Regions from separate parts of the Homo sapiens genome. Here all the other regions are linked to region 2. Evidence: promoter capture Hi-C in human tissues and cell types (Jung and others, 2019). All regions are on one chromosome and are shown on one strand. Each heading gives the region's core, a stretch centred on a gene start or on the middle of the fragment in contact. The rest is flanking DNA. Distances are from core to core; before and after follow the strand shown.

Region 1 (3,995 bases), core at 1,047-3,546, 36 kb after region 2:
GGTTTCATGACTAGCTCTTTCCTATTGGAAATGCAATTAGGCTCTGCTACCTCCATTTATTTTAGTTATCACATGCATTTTTATCATACATATTTATTCTGTCTCTAGCAGTGCAAAGAGGGATCATATTGAAGTTCTGGGAGACTGCCAAATCACATCTTTGGTAAAGTGGGCTGCACAGTCTCTGGGATAAAGGAAATTCCTGTTTAAAGGGGCCCATTTGTTCTTAGACTTAAGTTTGTATCATGTGAGTTTTATCCTGGGATTTGTACAGTTGGCCCTCCATATCCATGGATTCTGCATGCAAGGATTCAACTAACAACGGGTGGAAAATATTCCCCCCAAATTTAAAAATAACAATATAACAATGCAAGTAATACAAATTTTAAAAATACAGTTTAATAACTATTTACATAGGATTTACATTGTATTAGGTATTTTAAGTAATCAAGAGATGCTTTAAAGCATATAGAAGGGTATGTGTAGGTTAAATGCAAATACCATTTTATATAAAGAACTTGAGCATCTGTAGATTTAGGTATCGGGGTGTTGAGGAGCGTCCTGGAACCAATCCCCATTGGACATGGAGGGACGACTTTATATGAAATTGCTCCTAAAGCGTAGGATATATGGAGAGCCAGTTTTAACTAGTTTGTTTACACTGAGCCTAGTGCAAGACAGATCTGTGAGGGGGAGGAAAAGAAGGGAGAGATCAACCTGCCAGCAAGGGTCTATGACTGTTCAAACCAGTTGAACATGCTTATGGAAGCAGGAAGCACCCTGGATGAAACTAGGTCCAAAAATAATGGCCTTACACTGTGTAAGGGTGTCATAACATTAATGTTCTGAGGCTGACCCATTTTGGCAAAGCTTTGCAACAACTTGGCTATACAATGTGGAAGTTTGTGTGCTAACTAGAAATCAGGAATATGGATTTTCATGTCTGGTTGCAGATTATAAGCTTAAAACTGAGTTCTAACGATCTTACAGTCTACTTATTATTGTACAGCATAGCTCAATCCTCTTATTGATGCCTGAATAATGGGAGCATGGTAAAAATATAATGTTTCCCAAGGGTTTCTTCACATCTAAGGGTCTGAAGACATTCTCAGATCCTTGTATTTTGAATTTTGGGGTGTGTGTGTGTGTGTGCATGTGGCTGTTTTCAATTCAATGATGGTATTTAAAATTATTGTTTACGGCTGGGCGCGGTGGCTCATGCCTGTAATCCAAACACTTTGGGAGGCTGAAGCTGGCTGGTCACTTAAGTCCAGGAGTCCAAGACTAGCCAGGGGCAACATGAAGAAACCCCATCTCTTAACAAAGAAAAAAAAGGAAAGTAGCCAGGTGTGGTGGTGCGAGCCTGTAGTCCCAGCTACTCAGGAAGCTGTGGTGAGAGGATCACTTGAGCCTGGGACGTGGAGGTTGCAAGATCACTACACTCCAGCCTGAGTGACAGAGAGAGACCTCATCTCAAAAATAATAATAATAATAAATAAAATAAAATTATTGTTTACTCTTACATAAATGAAAATTTTCTTTTATAGTGATAATTCATAACTGAAAGATGCTTTCATGAATTATGCCATAAATCAGTGTGTTTTAAACCAAGGACTTGACATATTCTTGGTGATAGTCATAAAAGGAGTCTGTTCTTTACTCAAGCATGAGAAACACTATGTAACTTTGGGCGAGTTGACCTTGAGCCCCAATTTCTTGCCCCATAAAACGGGATTTATAGTAACTCTTTCTGAGGGTTGCTCTGGATTAAGTGAAGACAATGTCTATAAAGCATCTTGGGAATTAGGAGGTGCTCAATAAATATTAGTTCTCTTCCCCCTCTGAGCTCCTTTTCCTCATTCTCCAGGGGATATGTAGAAGCACAAAGGAGATACAAGGACTCCAATTATAGAGAGAGTAGTTAGTTTTCTTTCTTCAAGTAAAGAAGTTAGAATGGTTTTAACAAGTTGTTGCCATATGTCAGGCTTCTATAAAGCTGTATGTAGTCACAATGTAACTTCCGTTTCATTGAGAATACATCTCATAATTACATATAGAATGTTTTAGCTAATACAAATGTAACCAGAGTGCTTTATATTTTCCAGCCTTCTGGGCAGTCCTTTTCATTAACAACCAAATAAACATCGTTCAAACCCTCATTTGCTTGCCCACAAGAAAATGAGTCTCCTTCTGGGTATTTTTGAGAGCTCCTTCGAGTCCTGCCTGTTTTATTGTCACTTGCCACTTTTTATTAAACTATCCTCCCAGTTCTTGGTTGTCACTGGCCATTCGATCCCCATACTCCGTGTCAATCTTTCTCCCTCTTTTTCGCAGCTCCCAAATGAGGCCAGAGCCCCTTCTTCATGTCCCAGGGCAGTGTGAAGACAGGTGGACACTAGATTGTCTTAAATTCTCTTCCCAGGCTCCAGCAGGAGGTGTTTCCAGACTCTTTCCTTGGGTCCTAGCCTGCTGTTGGGTTCAGCCGCCCTGTATATTTGATACATTTTTCCTGACCTCTTTCTCTCCAAGTTCCTAGGCCTCAATCCCCTATTACTCTACCTGGATGCTCACAGTACTCAAATCAGGTAGATCTACATAAAGACTCTCTCAATGTTTTTCCTCACAGCTTTAAAGCTGAAATATCTCCAAAGTTAGTAACTAAAATCTGGGTTCTCATTCTGTTAATATTATTAGCTAACAGATTTTATTAACTATTTCTATACAATAATTTCATTGAATTTGGGCTTGATTGGCAAGGGGAAAGATGGGAGTTCTAGAAGATGCAGATATGTATATATACATATGCATATATATATTTGTATTTCTGTGTGTGTATATAAACATATATACACACACACAGAGGGAAATAAACAAGACTGTATAAAAATGCTTGCCATCAGCTCTGCTGTTTTCCTTGTAGCAGCGCTTTCCAAAGCTACTGTCAAATGGGGACTGAGGAAGAAGGCTTCAGTCAATGTGACTATTGGGTCAGTCTGAGTAAACCTGTTACCCTCATGAAATGTGTTTTGAGTCTTATCTTTAATCATGGAATGAAAGGTTTTTGCTTTGTTAAAATATCTTCAAGCTTTGTTGTACAGGTTTGGAATTGTGATGGGGATGCCAGCAAAGAATTTCCTGTACTACTCTCAAGACTGACTGCTATCACTAGGTTGAGATCCAGGCCCAGCAATGGCAATGAGTCTGTGCAAACATATCCCATACAATCTGTATTTGAGAGAATTTTGTGTGTTTGTGACAATTGTACTTTGCAAGCTCCATTTGCCTGGCAGAATAAAAATACCTATTCTAAATTTCCTTTCCTTGAAAATGATAATAGTAAAGCATTTTGCCAAAATGTTTTCACAGGCATCAGCCTCACAACACCTGTGAGGTGGGCAAAGTTGGCCTTGTTTCTTCATTCTACAGATTGGGAAGACAATGCTCAGAGAAATTGATGATCATGGTAAGGCTCAAAGAACCCAAGTAATCTCAGAATTCTTTCATTTGCTGCAGTGCGTCCCAAACACAACACCAGGGTCAGATTCCTGAATCCTGTCCCTAAAAGATCTGGAGTAGGTCTGGGGATCTGCATGTTTGTAAAAATCTCCCTAATAATTCTGGCGCTCAGACAGTTCACCCTAATGAGGTCATAATCAGCAGATAACTGAAGGAAATGCTGACATATCTCGGTGTCTACTGTGATCATCCCCCCATCAGCTCTATGTTCAATTAGATTGAATACTCAATGGAACTGACTGAGAGAGGTCAGAACAGAAATAAAGAAAGCAGAGAAGGAAGTAATTTGGCTCCAGACTGCCTGGGTTCAAATCCCTGCACCTTGACTTAATAGTGTGTAAGCTGGATCAAGTTACTTTACCTCTTTGATCCTCAGTTTCTTCAGGTTTCTGTGAGGATTAAATGGGTTAATCCAGGTAAATCACCTAGAACAGTGGCAGGCACTTAGTAAATGTTATTTATTAGCTATTATTATTATT
Region 2 (4,287 bases), core at 819-3,318:
TTCCACTTTGTTTACATGTATTTGCAGAGTCACCCCTGTGTAAGCCTCTGGTAAGATAGGAGCTTGCTTTTCTAAAATGTCATCTATAAACTGCTATTTCTTAGAGAACCAATAATGTAGCTTAACAATTTCTCAAAGGTATTGGGTATAGATTTCCTCTTCCAGTGGTTTCCATCCATGTCTTAAGGATGATCCAATATAAGTTTCCAATTTAAAAGGAAAATAACATTCAAAAAATTTACTCTCAAAATTCTTTCCATTCTTTTTAAATACATATGAGCCATGGACAGAATATAGCCAGATTTATTGCTTTTAAACAATAATTGTTTAATGTTAAAGATTCTAATCATCACTGAACATATATCTAGCACCCTTCTAGTTTATTATTTTTCGGAGAGAGTTTTAGGAGCCCAGATCTACAGAAACACTAGGTCTTTTCCAGGACAACCTAGAAAGTCAGAGGGAAAACTGTAAATCCATTGCTGATATTCATTGGATGATTAATTTTAAGATAGCCTCCACTGCCCCAAACTTTATCTAACTATAGATAACATTTTTAAAGACCAGAATTTTTGTCACTCAGATATTTGTTCTGGGGGTCATTTATGTTTCAATTAATCTTAGAATGTTATTATTAGCTTAAGTCAGTCACTCTACCATTCTATTGTATTCTCATGGTGCTGCACGCTGGAACTAAATTTTAACAAAAAAAGAAAACAAAATATTTTAAAATGTGAAGAAGAGAAGGTATATGAGACATCCATCCATCTTTTGTAGCAGATATGTCTATTTACCAAAGCTACTAATGCAACATAAAATTTAAAAACAAGGCAAATATTCCTTTCCTTGATAATCTTGTCTGGATAGTTGTCTATCTACATAAACTACGATGATCTGATAATTAAGTTGCATTAACTAACACTCATGGGGAAAGATCTTCGATGTAAATAACGTTTTCATTAAAGCATGTGTACTTGGATGATTTATTTCTTTAACTGCTTGACAAAACTGGAAGTTGGCTTAATACAACTGGCTAGAACGAAAGGAAATAAAAAATTGCGCAACTGTGTTGTAAGACTATGCATTCTCACTTACCCAAGTAGAGAGAGAATGACCAAGGTAGAGAAGGAATTTTGCAGAGGTCAGGTAGTCGGCCAAGGATCCTGCAAAGACACAGGCGGGGTGACAAAAAGCGATGGTAGTCACTTAATGAGCTGAGGGCAGAATGCTTATCCATTTGATCTCATTAGAACATGATTATTAAAAACTACTTTGCAGGACAAACCACGTACATTTTATCAAGTTACCTATGAACCGATGTATTTCGTTCACTTAATACCATTCACTAAATTCAGTTATTGACCTAGTCAATAACTGCCCAACTTCACATTTCACATACAGTGAAGAAACTCTTGTTTCAGCATTCTTTTTTGGGTTGGTTGGTTTGTTTGTTTTGTTTCTTTTTTACACAAGGCAATCCAAACTGCCCAATCTACTCCATCCGTGCCTGTGTGCAAACCCCTTTTCCCACACCCTGAATTTCCTTTCTTCCTTAACGTCCACCAAATATGAGTCAAAGGATCTTTTTACAAAGCTATGGTTCACAGCAGAGCCACATTCCTCCAGAACTCGTGTAGAGTTGCTTGTCTCCAAAGCCCCACCTGGGTTTCCACCATATGCTTTCGGTCAACGACACTCACCACAGCATCCTCTCTGGCGGTTGTGATCTCCCGCCCTGGTCATGACACTAGGCGACCCCGCTGGCTCTTCTGCGGCTGCTATCGCTGCTGCTGCTCTCGCTGAGGTGCTTGTTAACAGGAGTGCAAGGAACTGGAGATAGCACCTCTAAAAACACAACAGCCTTGGGCAAAAAGACTACAACGACGACTTTGGCAAAGAACAAAAGAAAAGGGGCCCAGGGATTTTCTTTTTTCCTTCTTTCCAAACTTAGCTAACACTGTAGCTGAAGTTGGAAAGGCAAAGCCTTATGGAAGCGGTTTGGGAGGCTCAGCAGGTCGTCCGAGCCTAGCGGACGCCCTGAGCCAGCTCTCTCCGCCGCCGCCGCCGCCGCCGTGGGCCGGGCCCAGCTCTTATACCGAGTCGGGGGCGGAGCTCCCTGCGACCTCCGACTGGGGCCGCCCCGTCCCCTTCAGGGCCGCCCGGGCGTCCCCGCGGCGCGAGACGAGCTCCCGTCAACCTTGCGCGCCGGGCCGTCCCCGCGCCCTTGCCCGGAGGAGTCGCCCACCCCGGGCGCAAGCGTCCAACCGGCCGCAGACACCCTGCGCGGCTTGCGGGGACCTTCGCCTCGACGCGTTCCACTCCCCGGGTTTTCCTGCTCTCCGGGAAGCCGCGAGGGCAACCTCGGGGGGCGGCCGTGGGGCTGGGAAAAGGAGGAAGGCGCGTGGAGCCGGCGGGGCGGCGTAGGGAGATTCTGCGCGAAACTAAGCGTCAGGTGCTGGAAGAAAGCGCTGCGCACCGGCTACCCCGCAGTTCAGGGAAAGGGCGGCCGCCGGACGGTCGCAGTGCAAAGCTCCAGCGCGAGCTTGGTGGGTGGGGATTCCTTTTTTAACGAAAATAATTTTTAATACAGGTATCTAAATAAATATAATTCATGCCACAGAGGCCGCTTTCCTGGCCGTCCCATTCCGGCCCGCCTGCAGCAGAGAATGCCTTTCCTTCCCCGGACTGCATAGCAGGGCTTCCCTCAAAGAACCAGAATCAAAGGGCAGGAAGGGGGCGCAAAGATCAGAGTCCATCCCTCTTGAGAGGAGCAAACGGAGGCTTGCAAAGGTGAAGTCCCGCAGCGAGTTACAGACCTACCCGTATCCCCAAACTGGGGCCTCCAAATCCGTCCTGGAGACAGAATGAGGATGCTGCAGCCCCAGCAAACCCTTCACCATCATTCCTTCTCCCTCTGTACCCTCTCACCCCGCCCCCACGCGCGCGTCCCTTCCCCACCTAACCTCCAAATGCCCCAGTGACAGGCTTACCAGGAATACCGGTTATCCCAGTTGTGTCCCTGGATCTGTCCCTGTCCAGATAAAGCCATTCGGTGGCCTCCTGGAGGGTGAGGTGAATGACTAAAGAACACCAGACTCTAGCCTTGGTTGACTTCGTTTTAATCCTGCTGTGCCAAACCAACCCCTGGGGCATACCAGCCCCTTTTGCCAGTAGGTTACCTTACCCTTCTTAATCTCACGAAAACCCTGGTAGTGGATCCTACATATTGAAACTCCAACCAGATGCCACACCTTGAGCACAGGCCAGACTGACACCCAGTAGTGAAGGGAGCCACGCATGAGTATGTGCCCTGTATCTGCACTCTCAATCAGGAGCCCCAAAGGTCTACGGGGTGGGTGCAGCTGGATTCGGTTGGGATGTGGTCTGGTGAGTAGAGATAGGGGTTACAGTTTAACTACTGCTTTTCACTGCTTTTTGCCTTTTCAAGCCCTCTTTTTTCCTTTCTTTCACACGACATTCAAGTTCTTTCTCCCAATTTAGAGAGGTTTTGGTTTGCTAACCGTGGAGAATAGGGTCATTTATACATGCATCCTTGAGAATAAACCAAAGTATACTCAGATGAGTGAACTAAAGTGAAGGAGTGAACTGGTAAATAAACCCCTCCACTTTATGGCGATCCCTTATTAGAGATGAATTTTTTGACAGGTCCTCAACAAGGCACAAAGGATAGTGATAGTTTGCACATTTGTCAGAGTGTGTCTCAGCAACAAGGACCTCCAAGTGCTTTACATTAATTATTACATATTATAAGAAGGGGTGTCATGCTGTCCCCAACTTCCAGGTGGCTTTTTAAAAGTTCGGTTGGTTAAAAAAAAAATTACTTCCCGTAGACACTGTTTAAGAAGTATTTGTGGAAAGAGTGGCTAAGTCAGCATATACCTCAAAATGTGATATGGAGTCTCTGTTCTCCATTGTCACCAAGGAGTCCCCAGAAGCCAAAACCGAGAGAATGTTATAAAGAACAAATGGGATACTGCAGTGAAGCAAGTAGGAAAGATACTTTGGAAAGAAAACAAGCAAGGTTCATGACATTAAAACCAGTGAGTGAGCTGTGGAAGGGGAATCTTAAATCCTAATTAATGAGAATAGTTGAGATATGTTAGTTGGGGCTTATGAAATGGAAAGAAATTGAAAATGAAAATAGAATAAAAATCCTCAAACTATTCAGAAAGTGCAAAATGACAGAATTCTTTTGGCTTTGACATGCTAGGTTACAAAGCACCGCTTTAATCACAAGACCCTTCGGGCTCTTCCTCCTTCTGAGAA
Region 3 (4,216 bases), core at 101-2,600, 38 kb before region 2:
TTTTTAACAGGTTGAGTATCTTGCCTGAGGTGACACAGGTGCTGCATGACCGCAGCCAACTCCACTTATATGTAATTTCTTTACTGAGAGCAAACCTGACCTCTGCTAAGTGAGGTGCTGGGGTTACAACCATGAATAAGACAATGTCTTTCTTCACATTGTGTTTGCAGTGTGCATACACGCATTGTCAGTAAAATGTCTAATACTTGTTGGAATCAGATAGAAAGCAGTGTTTTTTTGCCAACAGACAAGAAAACTCCAGTCAGACATGATTCTGGTTCAGCTTGACCTGACCCGCTTCAGCTTTGTCCTGGGAAGATCATAAATCATGATGAAAACATTGCCCAGTCCTTGTTCCCATTACCTCTTTGCCAGATCCACACAAGTTGCCAAGGGACTGATTTATCAGATTGTTGTTATGAGGACGGCTAATGCCACATTCATCGTGCCAGGTAGTATCTGTACCCAAGATCCTCCCTAGGAAAAAGCAGCAAGAGTTGAAGTTCCGAGAACTAAGAGGAAACTATGACCTAAAAGAGGTCACCTATGACCACGGGTCAGCTAGGTGTGAATGAAAAATTATTCTGCTGATTTATGAAGTGGAAAATATGACAGGAACTAGTGTTTATTCTAGTAAATTCCATGAATTTTACTGAAATCTTGTCAAAAACCAATATGTGAATCTTTCAAACTGTTAGCCAAAAGCAAATGTTAGTGGTCTGATTAGTGGAGTTATCCCAGCAAGCATGTAAAATGTCACAAATGACTTTAACCTGGGTTAGCCTTGTCCTTCCACCTGCCTCTCTCTGCACTGAGACACCTCCCTCTTGTATATTGAGGAATGAGCTTTGTCCCTCATATCTTTCCTGAACCCAGGGAGTTACTCTGGCATCGTCATGACTCACTCTGCAGCCGGGAACCATCTAGAACGTGCAAACATTGTCTTCATTGATGGAGGCCGCCTTTCCTTCACATGGGGCCAGCAACAGGAAAGGCTGGTTTTTTTTTTTTTCTTTTTTCTGCCCAACCTATTTGTTTCCCACATTGTCATCCTACAAAGCAGTACAGGTATATCAGTTGTTACTGATTGGCAAGATAACCAAAGGAACTGGGCAGAAAAAGCAGTAGTTTAGTCTAAGAGAGATAGTCTAGGGGCAAAGCACCCAGCAAGTTGAAGGCCTTGCAGTGGTTCCTGCGTGAACTCTCCCCAACTCATAACCTGTTGCCCTGTCTGCACCTTTCTGGTGTAATCTCTGCTCCTTATGTAATCTCTAGATGCAAACCTCCACCTTTGTAAACCCTCACCCCTAACCTCAGTGGTCATCCTTCCCTCATGGGTTAGTAACCCTGAGTCATTCCATCTAGAATAAATTCCAGAGGTGCTCCAGCTGGGCAGTCCAAAGTGGTGCCATCCCAGGTAAACGTCATGTCTGGGTCCTCTCTGAGAATTTCCCATTAATGAAAGCTGTAGACATTCCTCTTTCTTCAGCTATTATCCTGTGAATGACTGTCAGCCAATATACACATATCTCTAAAGGACAGACATTCACTCTTAGGGATGGGATAGCCAGAGTGTAACTAGAAATCACAAAGTGGTAGCCACAAACATGTTTTATTTGGGGCTGCATTTAAAAAGAAGAGAGAAAGAGAGAGAGGGAATCAGTTTCTGAGGCAGACAGAATAATAGTCCCCTCCAGAAGTCCATGTCCTAACCCAGAACCTGGGAATATGCTTATTTCCAAGGCAGAAGGGACTTTGCAGATGAGAATAAGTTAAGGATCTTGAGGTGAGGAGGTTATGCTGGATTAATCAGGTGGGCCCGATGGAATCGCAAGGGTCCATATAAGGGAAAGAAGGATGAAGGAGAATCAGAGTGAGAGAAATAGAGGTGATCAAGGAAGCAGAGGGTCAGAGACAGAGAGATGCGAAGATGCTATGCTGCTGGCTTTGAAGGTAGTGGTGGAGGCCACAAGCCAAGAAATGCAGGTGGCATCTAAAAACCAGAGAAGGCAAGGAAATGGATTCATCTGCAGAGCTTCAGAAGGGAGCATAGCCCACCAACACCCTGATTTCCACCCATGACAAACATCTGACCTCCAGAACTATAAGATGGTAAATTTGTATTGTTTAAGCCACTGTCTGTGGTAACTTGTTACAACATCAATAGGAGGCTGATACAGTTTCCACCATTTAAAAGCAGAAGTTTTGAGGTTAAAAAAAAATCTTTCAGACCTCTCTTAGAAAATAGAAAAAAAAATCTGTCCACAGAAGGTCTACTTTCCAGGACAGAATTGGCATAGTAGCCTCTGCCTCTGTTAGAAGTAGAATGGGGTCTGCAGTTCTGTACCACTCCTACTTTCGCTGTGTTCTCAAATGCTGAGGGTGAAGAGCCAGCTACGGATTACTATGGACTTGGAGCTTGCAATTCATGGCTGCCCTCTTCACTCAGTACCCTTTCATCACAAGCGGTCACACCATTCTTCCTCTGTCCTTTAACTGACTTGAACAACAGCCTAAATGGCCAGTCATTTGAAGTTTAAAAACTTGCCAATGGAAGCCTTCTGCTTTTATCTTTGCCTCTGAAAGACATTAGACAGAAAATTGGAATGAACCAGGGATGAGAGGTAAGTGTGTCCACAGGCAAGCAAGAAGGAGGGACAGAATCACCCAGGTAAGTATCACCAATGTGGCTCCATATGATCCTGGGTTCAGACAGTTTACTTTGACAGTATTATTTCATAGGTCATTTGTAGTTATCACCTACACAAATGAGGATTCTGCAGATTATGATCACTTGAAGTCCTAGCTTTTTATTTTTTTCAATTTGAGGGAAGAGGGAGCCTAAATTAGATTTTAGCAATATCTGGTCAGTGATTAATGTATACTACATTTTATAAAATTATCTTTTAAATCCAGTGAATGTTAGCCAGAATTTGGGTTGTTTTGTCTGAAAAGAAAAGCTTTGGCCACAAAACAATCTTCTAATGGTCTTGAAAATAGAAATGCATAATGCTGAATGTACTTAAAGTGTGCCCAAAGTAAAGTATTTCTGCCATGGAAACCACCCGCTCAGCAACTTGACCACTAAAGAATGTTTCCACTCTATAGAGAGAATCTATGGCCAAGCCAGGAACACCAATGATGAGCTGTAAATGCTTGCAGTTATACAAAAGGCCACTTTATAAAATGGCGTTGGTATTTTTCTTTTCCAGTAACACTGAATATCAAAAGGTAGCACCGACAGTACATTTCCAGAAATCATAATCATTTCCTCAGTAAAAAACACCTATTCAGAGCCTTCACCTGTTAACAGGCAACTTTACCTGGCTTTATTTTTATAACACCTCTGAAGGCTCAGCTCTGCAACTGGCCAATCATTGTGGACAGGCCAGTTCTATTATTAGATTGGTTTTGAAGTGTAAGCAGTCCAGAATAGTGGCAGAGATTTATTCTCCAAAATTGGCTGTTCCCTCTCAGTGTAAACTCTAGTCAAAGAACTATTCTCTCTGGGAAATGGATTTGGAAAATGAGGTAGTTTTAAACTGCTTGTGTGAATACATTTTTTCTTTTCTTTCTTTTTCTTTTTTTGTTGTTTTATTTTTGTTTTAGATGGAGTCTTGCTCTCGTCGCCCAGGTTGGAGAGCAATGGCGCGATTTCGGCTCACTGCAACCTCCGCCTCCTGGGTTCAAGCAATTCTCTTGCCTCAGCCTCCCTAGTAGCTGGGATTACAGGTGCCCACCACCACGCCCAGCTAATTTTTGTATTTTCAGTAGAGATGGGGTTTCACCATGTTGGCCAGGCTGGTCTCGAACTCCTGACCTCAGGTGATCCACCCGCCTCGGCCTCCCAAAGTGCTGGGATTACAGCCGTGAGCTACCGCGACTGGCCATGAATACATTGTTTCAGGAACTAAGTCACTCTTTTCTCTGTGGTACATGTGATGTCAAAGTGCACCACGTGGGGATACACATTGTTAACCTATTTGTTTTGGGACCTGTATTAGTGTGCTAGGGCTGTTTTAACAAAGTCTCACAAACTAGGTGGCTTACAAAATAAATGTACTGTCTCTCAGTTCTGGAGGCTAGAAATCCAAGATCAAGATGTTGGCAGGGTTGGTCCCTTCTGAGGGTTCTGAAAGAGAATCTGTTCCAGATTCTAGTGGTTTACTGGCAACCATGGGAATAATTTGGCTGCATCACCCTGGTCTCTTTCCAG

What was found. The method cuts DNA at HindIII sites, captures the fragments that hold promoters and counts their contacts. A contact is called where the count stands out against the background at its distance.
Region 1: a fragment that was not itself captured here is called in contact with the fragment with the promoter of SLC40A1 in region 2 in 2 of the 25 tissues and cell types used here (mesenchymal stem cells and spleen).
Region 3: a contact is called between a fragment that was not itself captured here and the fragment with the promoter of SLC40A1 in region 2, in 3 of the 25 tissues and cell types used here (IMR-90 fibroblasts, mesenchymal stem cells and psoas muscle).

Annotation. Positions count from the first base shown.
Region 1 is chr2:189,614,082-189,618,076 of GRCh38, forward strand. No RefSeq gene overlaps it. Among named protein-coding and RNA genes, the nearest start is that of SLC40A1, 35 kb to the left of the region's middle. The HindIII fragment of the contact is 4,571 bases long and covers 12-3,995 here.
Region 2 is chr2:189,578,718-189,583,004 of GRCh38, forward strand. It overlaps SLC40A1 (solute carrier family 40 member 1), which reads right to left and starts at 2,069. Exons shown (of 8, transcript NM_014585.6): 1 at 1,701-2,069; 2 at 1,096-1,163. The coding sequence starts at 1,743. RefSeq lists silencers at 2,023-2,082, 2,153-2,322. The HindIII fragment of the contact is 17,191 bases long and covers 1-4,287 here.
Region 3 is chr2:189,541,398-189,545,613 of GRCh38, forward strand. No RefSeq gene overlaps it. Among named protein-coding and RNA genes, the nearest start is that of SLC40A1, 37 kb to the right of the region's middle. The HindIII fragment of the contact is 6,237 bases long and covers 1-4,216 here.